Regions from separate parts of the Homo sapiens genome. Here all the other regions are linked to region 1. Evidence: promoter capture Hi-C in human tissues and cell types (Jung and others, 2019). All regions are on one chromosome and are shown on one strand. The core of a region is centred on a gene start or on the middle of the fragment in contact, and the rest is flanking DNA. Distances in the headings are between cores, read along the strand shown.

Region 1 (3,727 bases), core at 762-3,261:
GATACCATGTGGGAAACGGATGGTCTTACTAAGAGCTAGCATGCACTCACTCACTGGTTCATTCACTATGCTTTCATTTAGGAAGAACGATCCCGCGTTCTGATAGGAAAACACATTTTCTTCTAACCCCCAATTTGAGGGTCAACTCCTGGGACCCCTTGCCTCGGGGGTCAGGCCGCGCTTGGCTCGGTTTGGAAAGGGCTGGCACGCTTCCTCAGGCGGAGGGTATGCACAGAAGCGGAGAATTCATTATAACCGGTTAGTCATCCGTAGAGGCTGTAGACACTGCCCGCGGGCGGGGCGCACCTGGCGCTCCTGGAGAGGGGCCTGTTCCTTGCGTTGCCCCCCAAGGTGGGAGCGCGACCTGCCAGAGCCCAGGGGAGCTCGGGTCTGCCCGCACTCGGGAAAAGCACTAAGAGCCTCTCGGTAGCAGTCCTTCTCCCTCGCTGCCAACTCTGAGATCAAGCCCAACATCTGCAGGGGTAACTTTTTCCAGGGACTACTGGAAAGGAGAGCCGGCCTGGCTCCTAGCCGGACACCACCTGGCGGAAGCTGGAGCCCGCCCTTACTTCCCTGCAACCTGAGGATGCTGAGGCCAAGGGCGGGTGACGGGGCAGAAAGCAAAGCCCTGGTTGCAGAAAGGCATGCAAATATGAACCCAGGTGTCTGGTGCGCCGGGAGCCCCGGCGACGTTAGGAGCGCACTCCTTGCTGGGGTCACCGGAGTTGCGCTTGGCCGGGCAAGGATGACTCAGCCTCACTCCGGTCGGTCTTTACCGCCAGCCTGCGCGAGGGCTCCACAAAGTTCCCAATCACACCCCATACCTCGCACGGGGGAGAGGGGTTCTGCAAGCTGGGTCCCGGGGTGGGGGCAGCGGCGAGAGAGGCGGGGAGAAGCCTGGTTCCCAGAACGCGCAGGGGCTTCTCCGGCTTCCTTTCTCCTCGCCCCTGAGGGCGGCGAGAAGGCGCCTCCTCCGGCGCTCACTGCCTCCTGCCCAGTGCGGTGGGCGCCGGAGTGGGGAGCAGGCAATCCCCCAGGCTCGGAGAAATCTTTTATCCCGAAATCCAGGGTGTCCCCCGGTCAGGATCGACTCGGCGCCGCGTTGGCTTCCTCGCTCAACCCTGACATCCCGGTCCCCACCAGTCACCGCAGCCGGGCGGACTCCGAAGGCAGCGGCCGCTGGGGAGCCCCGGGGCCTGGGTCGGGCGCGCAGGGGGCCGCTGCGCTGCGGCCGGATGCCGGGAGCCCCGCGCTGGTGCGCCCAAGCCGTGGTGGCAGCACCGCCCTCCGTGCTTTCCCCTGTCGGGCGCCGCGGCCGGAGGAGCAGCTGCGGGCGGTCACGCAGCGCTGCCCTAGCCAGAGCCCCGAGCTCCCACCCAGTCCCATCCCCAGCCCGATCCGCCCCGCGTGCGATCCCGCCTGCCGCCGCGAGCCTGTGCTCCTTTCTGAGATTTCTGCTTCTTCCCCAGCTCCCTCCCCGCAGGAGAATCGCGCGGCGGGGGCGGAGGGCGCGCCCCCTTTAGGTTCCGCGGCCCCCGACCCCGCCCGGCCCAGGGGCGGAGCGGGCATGCTACGCCCTCTCCTAGCAGCCGCCCGCAAAGTGCGGAGCGCCGCGCCCTGCCCTCGGCTTCCCTCCCGCGCCCCCAACCCCCACCCTGGCTAGGGTCGCCCGGCCCGGGGCCAGCCCCAGAGTCGCGCCCGCGGTGGCGGACTGCGGAGTTGTAAAGAACTCAGCGGCCGCAGTAGCCCGGGTGGGGCAGGGCGCGCTCCGCCGCGGCCAAGGACACTGGAGTTTCCGAGTCCCCGCCCGCGCGGCGCCTCCTGCCCCGCCGCCCTCCCGCCGCGGCCCGCCGGACTCCCCGGGGCCGCCGAGGCGGGGCCGGGCGGCTGCTGCTGCTAGAGGCGCGTCTCGCTGCCTCCTCCCCCGCCCGCCTCCCTCCCCACCTCTCCTCCCTCCCTCCCCACCTCTCCTCCCTCCCTCTCCTCTCCGCCCTCCCCGCCCCCCCCACCCGCTCCTTTTTCTGCTCCCCAAGTGAGCCGGGCGCGCGAGAGGCAGGCGGGGCGGCGCGGAGCGGAGCAGGCAGCCCCGCGCGCTCGCCCACCGCCCGCTCCGCGCAGCTCCCCGCGGCCGCTCTCGTCGCCGCCGCAGCGGGCGCGTCGGAGGGAGCCCAGCATGGCCGGGCCGGGCTCGCCGCGCCGCGCGTCCCGGGGGGCCTCGGCGCTTCTCGCTGCCGCGCTTCTCTACGCCGCGCTGGGGGACGTGGTGCGCTCGGAGCAGCAGATACCGCTCTCCGTGTAAGTGCCGGCTCCTGCGCCGCCCGGGGAGGGGACCTTGCCGCCTGCGACCCACTGTGCCCAAGTTTGGGCGCCTGCAGGTGCGGCTGGGCAGGACCCGCCGCGGGCGTCGGCCTCGCCGCTCGCACCTGCCTTTCGGGACCCGCGTCGGGCGGCGAGGCCGGGGTGGGATGCTCTGGCCCCTGCCCGCAGGTTGCCGAGTGAGATCTGGAGAGGCTCACCTCAAGTGACGGCACCAACTTTGGAGCCTGGTTACCGAATCCAACTTCCATGGGCCGCTGAATTTCCCCCCTCTTTGCTCTACTGCCGCCCCACTTCTTTTTTTGGGGGGGGGATGGGTGGATTTCTTCTGACTGCTATTTGCCAGGTGATGCCCAGTTTGGGGGGTCGAGTCCTCGGGCAGTGGTTCGAATGAAACTCAGTGGTCTTTTTAGAGAGCCTGGGAGACTTTGCGCATTCTTAACTCCGCGACCCCCCTCGGGCCCCCTCCCGCGCTGCGCTTTGCAGTTTTGGTGCTGGCAGTTTCTACCAAGCCGCTTTTTCTATCTTTTCTTCTTTTAAAACATGTTACATCGCACTGCTCCTTCAGCCATAGTCCCATGTGTGCGTGTGCGTGTGCGTGCGTGTTGACTGTGACACGGGTGTTACATATCTTCCTGTGCCCCTTCTCCCTGTAGGGTGAAGCTCTGGGCCTCGGCTTTTGGTGGGGAGATAAAATCCATTGCTGCTAAGTACTCCGGTTCCCAGCTTCTGCAAAAGGTAAGGTTTCTGTGGTGGCAGGAAGCGATGATTTTTCCGGCACAGAAAATGGAGGCAGATTTAGTTTTCCAAACAAACGTGAGCCCCGAGCAGCATCAGTTATCGGAGGACTCTCTGATCCCCGGGTTTCTTGGCATTGTACTATGCAGTGACTTCTTCCTACCAACCGGTTATTTTTAGATGACACTTGATTCTAACCACAAAGAAAAGCAGGATACTCACTCGCACTGTCCTGGCTGGGGCTCGGAAACTGAGTGTTTTTGCATGGCTCTCGTCTCCGTGTCGGTATTGCTGTTTCAGTGCCAGAGCAGATGCTCCTCGGGCCAAAAAATGCTAACTTCATCCAAGGGGCAGACTCAGTGCCTATTTTGTGATGCCTTTCACCTTGCGTTGGAGGCGTGGGGTTCAGTGTATCAGAGAAAGACGCTGCACTATTGTTTGTCATCCCTGCAGTTGTACAATCCCATTATTCCCCAATCATCTAGACCCAGGGCTAGGATGCATTACATCATTGCAGATAAGGAGAATGAATGTGGTTATCTTTCCACTCAGCTGCACTGCCGGGTAATAACCTATGAGAGTAGTCCACAAACTTAAGAAATGGGTCTGCATCCATGTAATTCTGGAGAGTAATGAGAATGGAGAATTGATTATTAGGTTCTTATCACAAGCT
Region 2 (3,727 bases), core at 700-3,199, 61 kb after region 1:
TACACCCTTCTGTAAATGTATTTACAGGCAACAATATTTATCAAAGTTAGGTTTTAGATTGCCCCAGAGCTGAAGTTATAAAATAATTTTAATGCAAATACTTGTGTTTTCTATGCTAGGACTTATGAAAAATGACAGTGTTTTGGGTAAGCCACTTAGCAGTACAGCCTTGTCCAACACTCCCTGAGAACTCATCAGCATTCAGTAATCCTGTCAGAATGGAAAAATCTTTTTGCTTTAAATGAGATTTTGCTTGATTGGTATTTTTATTTTGGAAATCCAATTTTAGCTTTTTGTCTCACTTGATAATGAGTTTTTTGATAAATATTGTCACCCTTTATTGTAAGCATAAAGAAGAGGTAACAAATGGCTTTCTGTAATGTGATACTGTAATAAATAAAATCAGATGCCAGGAGTCCGCTCGTCACTGGCATAAATAAATGCATTCCTTCCTATTGGGCAGATGGGAACAGGATGTTGATTCTGAGTTGGTAAAACTTTGATTCCCATTCCTTTGAAAAATCCAACGAATGGCTTTATTTTCACATCTAATGTTTCTTCTGTAGTCTGAAACAAATGTTACTACGTTATTTGATTTAGAGTGACTATGTTAGATAACTCTACCAGTTAATTTGGTTGGGTTTTACTTTGCTGTGGCTGAGTGCTCTGCACTTGCTGTGGTTGGTGGTTGGGAAAGTGGGCCCTGGGCGATCACTTCCTCTCTGTGGGTTTCCACTGGGATGGCAGAAACTGCTTATCATGCCACAGGCTGGAAAATAAATCCTGGAAGCACCATATAGCTCAAGAGACAATTTGAAAATAACAATCAGAGTCATGAATAGAAGCCGATGCACAAATTCAGTTAACAAGCAGAGGAACTAATCTATCAGACATTGGGTGGAAAGCCTATTTCTGAGTTTATTTCACAGCACATTATGACATTTCTTTAAATCACAACTTGTCCCCATGTAAAAGATATAATCTACATATTCCTGTGGGAAATAATCAGAGACAAAGCTTTACTGTATTTGTCGTTTCTGAAGTTGACCTCATTCCCCCCCCAAAATATTTTTCATGTTGTGAAATGTAATTTGCTTGACCCCAACAAAATTGGAATAAAAACCATCACAATTACCGGTGGTTAAGAAAGTGGAATTGAGTTTGGGAGAATTGAGGCATAAAGAAAATTTTTTTTTTTTTTTTTTCTATTCAGAAAATATATTGAAAGAAATGCAGAGAGACTTCAAAATTCCATAGTAGTTTGCACCTAATTCTGGTTGATAGGGTTTTAGTGTTTGGAGTGGTAAGCAGCTGTGGGGTTTGTGGTGGCCTGCCCTCTTGCAGGCTGAGAGGGAACTGGGGCCTGTGAAGAAGAGGTGACCTGTTTAGTGTCACATAGCTGATTGGTGGCAGGGTTAGATCTGCATCCTGGCCCATATACTTGGGTGCTTTTTGCCAACGCGCCTTTTTCCTTTCTAAAACTTTTACTTTCAGGAAGCCCATAGATTAAAAAAAAAATCTGTGTATTGTGTTCTCTCAATTTCTAGGTTCACATTTGCCTGAGTTTAATAAGAGCCTGGCTGGGTACGGTAGCTCACGCTTGTAATCCCAGCACTTTGGGAGGCTGAGGCGGGTGGATCACCTGAGGTCAGTAGTTCCAGACCAGTCTGGCCAACATGGTGAAACCCCGTCTCTACTAAAAATACAAAAATTAGCCGGACATGGTGGCGCATGACTGTAATCCCAGCTACTCGGGAGGCTGAGGCAGGAGAATCACTTGAACCTGGGAGGCAGAGTTTGCAGTGAGCTGAGATTGCGCCACTGCACTCGAGCCTCAGCAACAAAAGCGAAACTCCGTCTCAAAAAAGAAAAAAAAAAAAAAAAAAAAAAAAAAAAGAAGAGCCTTACTTCCTTTCATTTGAAGCAAAGTGGAATTACCTTGACTGTGGAATCAAAAAGCAGGAATCATCTGCTTTTTCCATGGCATGCATTCCGGTGCATTTGTGATGGTCTTTTTCAATGAGACACAGCTGTCCCAGGTCAAGCTTGAAGGCAGGGTAATTGTCATGAGCACAAGCACATGTTGTTTTCTATCTCTTTGAGTGCAGGAAATAAGTACTCTTACAGAGTTGGGAAAACAGAGTGATCAGAGATTCAGGCTGATTGGGGAAAGCTGGAGCCCTAGAGGTTCTGTCGGAACATTTGGCGCACACTTGACAAACCCTTCAGGCTGTGCGCTGCCTCTGGTCATTGCTGCAGCCCCAGACTACAGGTAGGCAATGTTTATATAATTGAGTGAATAGTAGCCACTTCCTATGTGTGTTCACTTACTCTGTGCTAAGGCCTTAAGCCCTCCCCCATCCTCCCATCACCAATTTTAGAGGCATAGAAATGAAGTATTAGAGAGTCTGGGTCATTTGCCCAAGATCATGAGCTTAGAGTCCTGAGGTCTGGGTTTGAACCCAGGCTGTGCTTAGCATTGGCTATAGGAGAAAAGGACATTTGTCTCCCCAATCCCCAGAGCATACATAGGCCTTAGTGCAGCCCCTACCTCATCTTTCCCTTGCCTTCATGGCTGGCTGACATGTGAAATGGGCCATCCCATGGGGAAGTACTTTATGGTTTATGTGGGTTATTATCATACTCGATGGCATTGAATCCATTTGGGGACATGAGGTTCTTCAGTTCTTATCTCTTCTTGGTTTGCATTTCTTTGTTTTTTCTTTGATTCAGAGTAGTTAATGTGGGTGAAATGGAGGGAGGTTGCCTCTGGAACTGAAATTCTGGAGTTTTCTGGAGCAAACAATGGAATGTTGCAATGTTTATCTCTGTCAGCAACATTCTGAGGTGAGAGCCCCAACCATTTCTAGTATTAGCGAGGGTAATGACTTCTTAGTGACCAGGGACGTAGGCTAGGTAGGGAAGCCCTTACGGGAGGATTCATTTGGCGTTGTGTGACTACCCCAAAGGTCTGAGCCAAAGGTCCTGTGCCTTAGAAGTGGGAGGGGTTTGTGTATGTTTCCTGTAAGTTCTGTTCATAAATGCTGAAATTCTTCTGTTGACAGGATAGTAATGAACCCATTGGTTAGAAGGTTGAAGTAATGGAAAAACCTGTTTCAATACCATAAGTTGTGATTGTTGTACTTTTCAGATTGCAGTTCTTCTAAATGGCTTATAGAAGTTTCCAAGCTCTGCTTTGCCCTGACACATAAGCTCTTTAGGGTACAAAAAGAAATACTTACATCAGAATTGAACTTTTTTTTTCTGGCAGAAGAGGAGCTTTTGGAACACAAAAAGATTTTGGAGCAAAGAATTTTGAGAAATTCTACTTTAATTTTTTCCCAAGTATTTGCACATTAAGGGCTCTTAGAAGTCCTTAAAAAGAAGCCTGCTTAATTTTACCCTGGCATCTCTCAAACTTATTTAAGATCCAAAATTTTAATTTGTCTGCAGCACACTTCTAGAATGGGGCTTTAGATTTTTAGAGGTCAGTAACATGACATCTAAAGGTTAAATTATGTTTATTCACGAACATATTATTCTATAGATTCAACACTAAATCCTGTAGACCAAAGGATCAACACATTTTTTCTTTAAAGGGCCAGGTAGTAAATATTTTGGGCTCTCTAGGTCTCTGTTACAAATACTCGACTCTGCTGTTGTTGTGTGAAAGCAGCCATAGACAATATTAAATGATGGACATGACTGTGTTCTAATAAAACTTTAT
Region 3 (3,727 bases), core at 734-3,233, 37 kb after region 1:
AAAAAAAAAAAAGAAATGGGGATAAATTATCTGTGCAAAGATTCTTAGTGAGCAGCTTCCTTGTAACGATTACATGCAGAAGTTCTTTGGGGGAGGTAGGAGAAGAAAGAAGCAAGATATAATTTTAAAAGGAGCTGCACTATTTCAGAAGGAAATTGCCACCTAAGGTGGGAGGCATTGCAGCTTCCTGGTGCTGGAAGCACTGAAGATTGCCCTGTCTCCTGTGTTGCCTGTAATCTCTGGCCTTGGTTCCTTCAGTCTGGCTACTTAGAGCTTTGTGATTCTTTAGCAGGGGCTGGGAGGTATTAGGAGCCCCTGGCCCTGTATTTCTGTGGCATTTTATTTGGCCTCTCTAGGGGGTGTATTTTCGAGCAGCAGCTGTGAGGTCACCCTGGGTGCAGCCAGATCCCCATACCTGCTAATTTAGCTCCTTTTGTGAGCTATTTTATTTCGGATGCCTTCTGTGGAAATTTTGTTCCAGACTGACTTGAAAGTGTTTTCAGCATCGATTCTCTCTTTGAACAGTATAACCAGGGTTTGCCACTTGTGGGGAAAAAAGGAGCTCATCTTGAGCTTTAAGAACAGTATGAGGTGGGCTTCCTGTGTCCAGCCCACCCCAGTGAGAATTATGCCATGTGTCTTCTCTCCAGGATAAACCGACTTTTCCATTTTACATAAAATCGAATCTCTTGAATAACAAAGAGTACTGTAGATACTGAACTGGCTTCTCGGGACTAGATGGACACCCTTAGTTTTTCAGGGCTAATAATTGTTTTTTTTCCATGATCAAGTTCCCACATGGACTTCGCCCACAGTGCTTGTTTTTCTGTGTTGTTTGAGGTAGTGGAGAGAGAGCACTTCCTCTTGGGGAAATGATTTTCATTTGCTCACTTAGCAAGCACTTTTGATCCTGTTTTGCTTGAAGCTTCATGTCAGACCTGCCCATCTGCATACATGCAAAAGAAGTAGGCTCTCTGGGTCCTTCTTCTGTGATGGTCATTAGTTTACAAATATTTCATTTGTCCTACCTCTGTGCACATGAAATCGAACTCCCTGCCCTGCTGAAATTAAGTATTGTCGTATGACTTACTTTGGCCAGTGGATTATGAGTGGGGGTGATCTGTTTTATCTCCTGGAAGAAGCCTCTAAGAGTCACGTGTCTGTTCACACTGCCCAGCAATTGTATTGTTTCCAATGCCAGAAGCTTTGCCTCCCCTCCAGTTTAAATCATCCTTTTGAATCAAACCCTCTTTAAATTATTCTTGTTTGCCTGGATCATTTATTTTCTGTTGGGATTTTGATTGATTCAGTCATCATAAAAACAGAACATGATCATTCAAGATGATTTAGAAAGTGGGGATGTAGAAATAAGTTTAAGAAAAAAAATCCATAGTTTTATACCCAAACATCCCTGATATTAACGTGGTCATTTTTTTTTTCCTTCTTGACTTTTCCTTGCTCAGTGCATTGTGCTTTAATTTGGTTGTGATCATTTGGTATGTACAATTTTAGGTGCTTTGTCATGAACATTATGTTTTACATGGTATTATTACACATCATAAGAGTCCTTTTTAATAACTGTATAATAAGTGATGCAGTTTAAGGAAAAAAATTCTAAATTTTAATATCATAAGAAATTATATTCTGCATAGCTGAAGTATATCCTGTGGTAGAAGAGGGGGTAAATCAAGAAAAACAAATTCAATGAACCTTTCTCCGGTGCCTCCCGTGTGCCAGGCTTGTGTTGGGTGCAAGATATGGAAGCAATTATGACAGAATCATCAAGTTCCCATGGGCTTAACACTGGTAAATGTTGATTCTATGTCTAATCCTCTTGGGACTAGGTTGGATTTGTTACCCACAAAATTTTTTAAAAATCTAATTTGACCAATAGAATTTCCCTCTTTTGAAAAATAATACACAAAATATTGCTCTTTTCCCTGGAGAGGATTCAAGCTTTTGCAATTTGGGGGAGATAGACTTTATAAAAAAAAGAGACAAAATCATGAATAGGAAAGAAATCACAACACATTATTTAATCTGAAAGATAAAAGTATCGTTTATATAGCAAACATACTACAAACATCCAGAAGATAACATACAATTATTATTATTTTATAAATTGTTTTAATTAACTGCCTGGCAAGCTCTGTAATCTTGTTTCTTTCTTCTAGTTTTTGGCTGAGTGCTTGTTGATCTACTCTTCATATGATGATGATTTTGTAATATTGTTTTCTATGGAGAGAATAGGAAGATGATTCATTCTCTTCTGGCAGTGGTTTTCCACATGGTCTGCACAGGAGAATATTTTGGGAACTTTTAAGAATCCTAATGTTCAGATGCTCCCTAGGTCCATTAAATCAGTATTGCTGGGGCCGGGTGCAGTGGCTCATGCCTGTAATCCCGGCACTTTGGGAGGCCAAGGTGGGTGGATCACCTGAGGGCAGGAGTTCGAGACCAGCCTGGCCAACATGGCAAAACCCTATCTCTACTAAAAATACAAAAATTTAGCTGGGTGTGGTGGCGGGCGCCTGTAATTCCAGCTACTCAGGATGCTGAGGCAGGAGAACTGCTTGAACCTGGGAGGCAGAGGTTGCAGTGAGCCAAGATTGCGCCACTGTACTCCAGCCTGGGCAACAGAGGGTGACTCTGTCTCAAAAAAAATAAAATAAAATAAAATAAAGGAATTGCTGAGACCCTGGCATCAGTCAGAGCCCCAGCTCTAGAATGGGTGATGGAAGTTTGATTTTTACTATTGATCATTTAGAAAAGTTTCCTTTAGCTTCACTGCTTGTTACTGGCATTGTCATATATGTTTTTAGGCTTGTTGTCAAATCTGGGAAGACCTCTCTCCAATTTCTTTCAGAAGTAAGCTGTGAGACTTCACGTTGTTTCAAGTTTTCTGTGCGGTAACTGATCTTAAATGTTCTTTGAATGGAAGACACTCATTAACCAATTTGTAATGTGTCCTCATTTTCTGTGTATTTTATGAGTTTTATGTTATTTTTCATTGAGATCAGTATTTTTATGTCAAAGGAGTAAGAAATTAAATTGCCTGAAGAAATGGGATTGGATGAGACCATTTTGCCGAAAGAAAAACATGAGCAAAGGCGAAGTCCAGCAGGCGAGTCCAGTGTGGGGAGGCAGCCAGGTGCCAGGTTTGCAGCTGTGTGGATGCCATTGAAAGGGGAGCCTGTGTGCAGGTGGGAAAGGGCTGTGTGCTGGCAGTTGTTTAGTAAGGGAGCAATATGTTCATGAAAGACAGTGTCATGCCATGTTGAAATTATTCCCTTCACACACGTAAAAGCGGTGTGAATCCCAGCTCTGCCAATATTACTAACCAGCAATGACCATACAGGGAAATAAAACATACAGATAGCCCTCTGCACCCAAACCCAACCCATCTCCACTGAACTCCCCCTTCACCAGATCCTTACACTGCCGTGGCCATACCATTGCCACCTGCTCAGAAGAGAAGCATGACGGGCAAGTTGGGGTAAAGGAGACAGCAGTCTTAGCCAATTGAGATTAAAATATCCTACTTTTGTTAATTTTCAAAAACATAGGCCTGTGAACACATGTTAGTTCCCCTTGGAGGGGCACCTACCAGGGAGGATCCCTGAATTGTGAGTGTCTTTAGCGTCACAGTTAGCCCACCTTTGCTTCTGCATATGAATTAGTAACTGAATGGCATATATGCTGACAAAGCTCAGGCTTAAGTGGCAAC

The links. Contacts are between HindIII fragments. The study calls those that stand out against the background at their distance.
Region 2: a contact is called between a fragment that was not itself captured here and the fragment with the promoter of CACNA2D3 in region 1, in 2 of the 25 tissues and cell types used here (neural progenitor cells and pancreas).
Region 3: a fragment that was not itself captured here is called in contact with the fragment with the promoter of CACNA2D3 in region 1 in 2 of the 25 tissues and cell types used here (hippocampus and neural progenitor cells).

What each region holds. Positions count from the first base shown.
Region 1 is chr3:54,120,541-54,124,267 of GRCh38, forward strand. CACNA2D3 (calcium voltage-gated channel auxiliary subunit alpha2delta 3) reads left to right here and starts at 2,012. Exons shown (of 38, transcript NM_018398.3): 1 at 2,012-2,295; 2 at 2,973-3,054. The coding sequence starts at 2,174. LOC124909381 (a long non-coding RNA gene) reads right to left here and starts at 2,902. Exons shown (of 2, transcript XR_007095914.1): 1 at 2,517-2,902. RefSeq lists a silencer at 769-818. The HindIII fragment of the contact is 8,759 bases long and covers 1-3,727 here.
Region 2 is chr3:54,182,025-54,185,751 of GRCh38, forward strand. All of the region lies in intron 2 of CACNA2D3 (calcium voltage-gated channel auxiliary subunit alpha2delta 3), which reads left to right. Among named protein-coding and RNA genes, the nearest start is that of CACNA2D3, 61 kb to the left of the region's middle. The HindIII fragment of the contact is 5,314 bases long and covers 1-3,727 here.
Region 3 is chr3:54,157,844-54,161,570 of GRCh38, forward strand. The region is part of intron 2 of CACNA2D3 (calcium voltage-gated channel auxiliary subunit alpha2delta 3); the gene reads left to right. Among named protein-coding and RNA genes, the nearest start is that of CACNA2D3, 37 kb to the left of the region's middle. The HindIII fragment of the contact is 5,633 bases long and covers 1-3,727 here.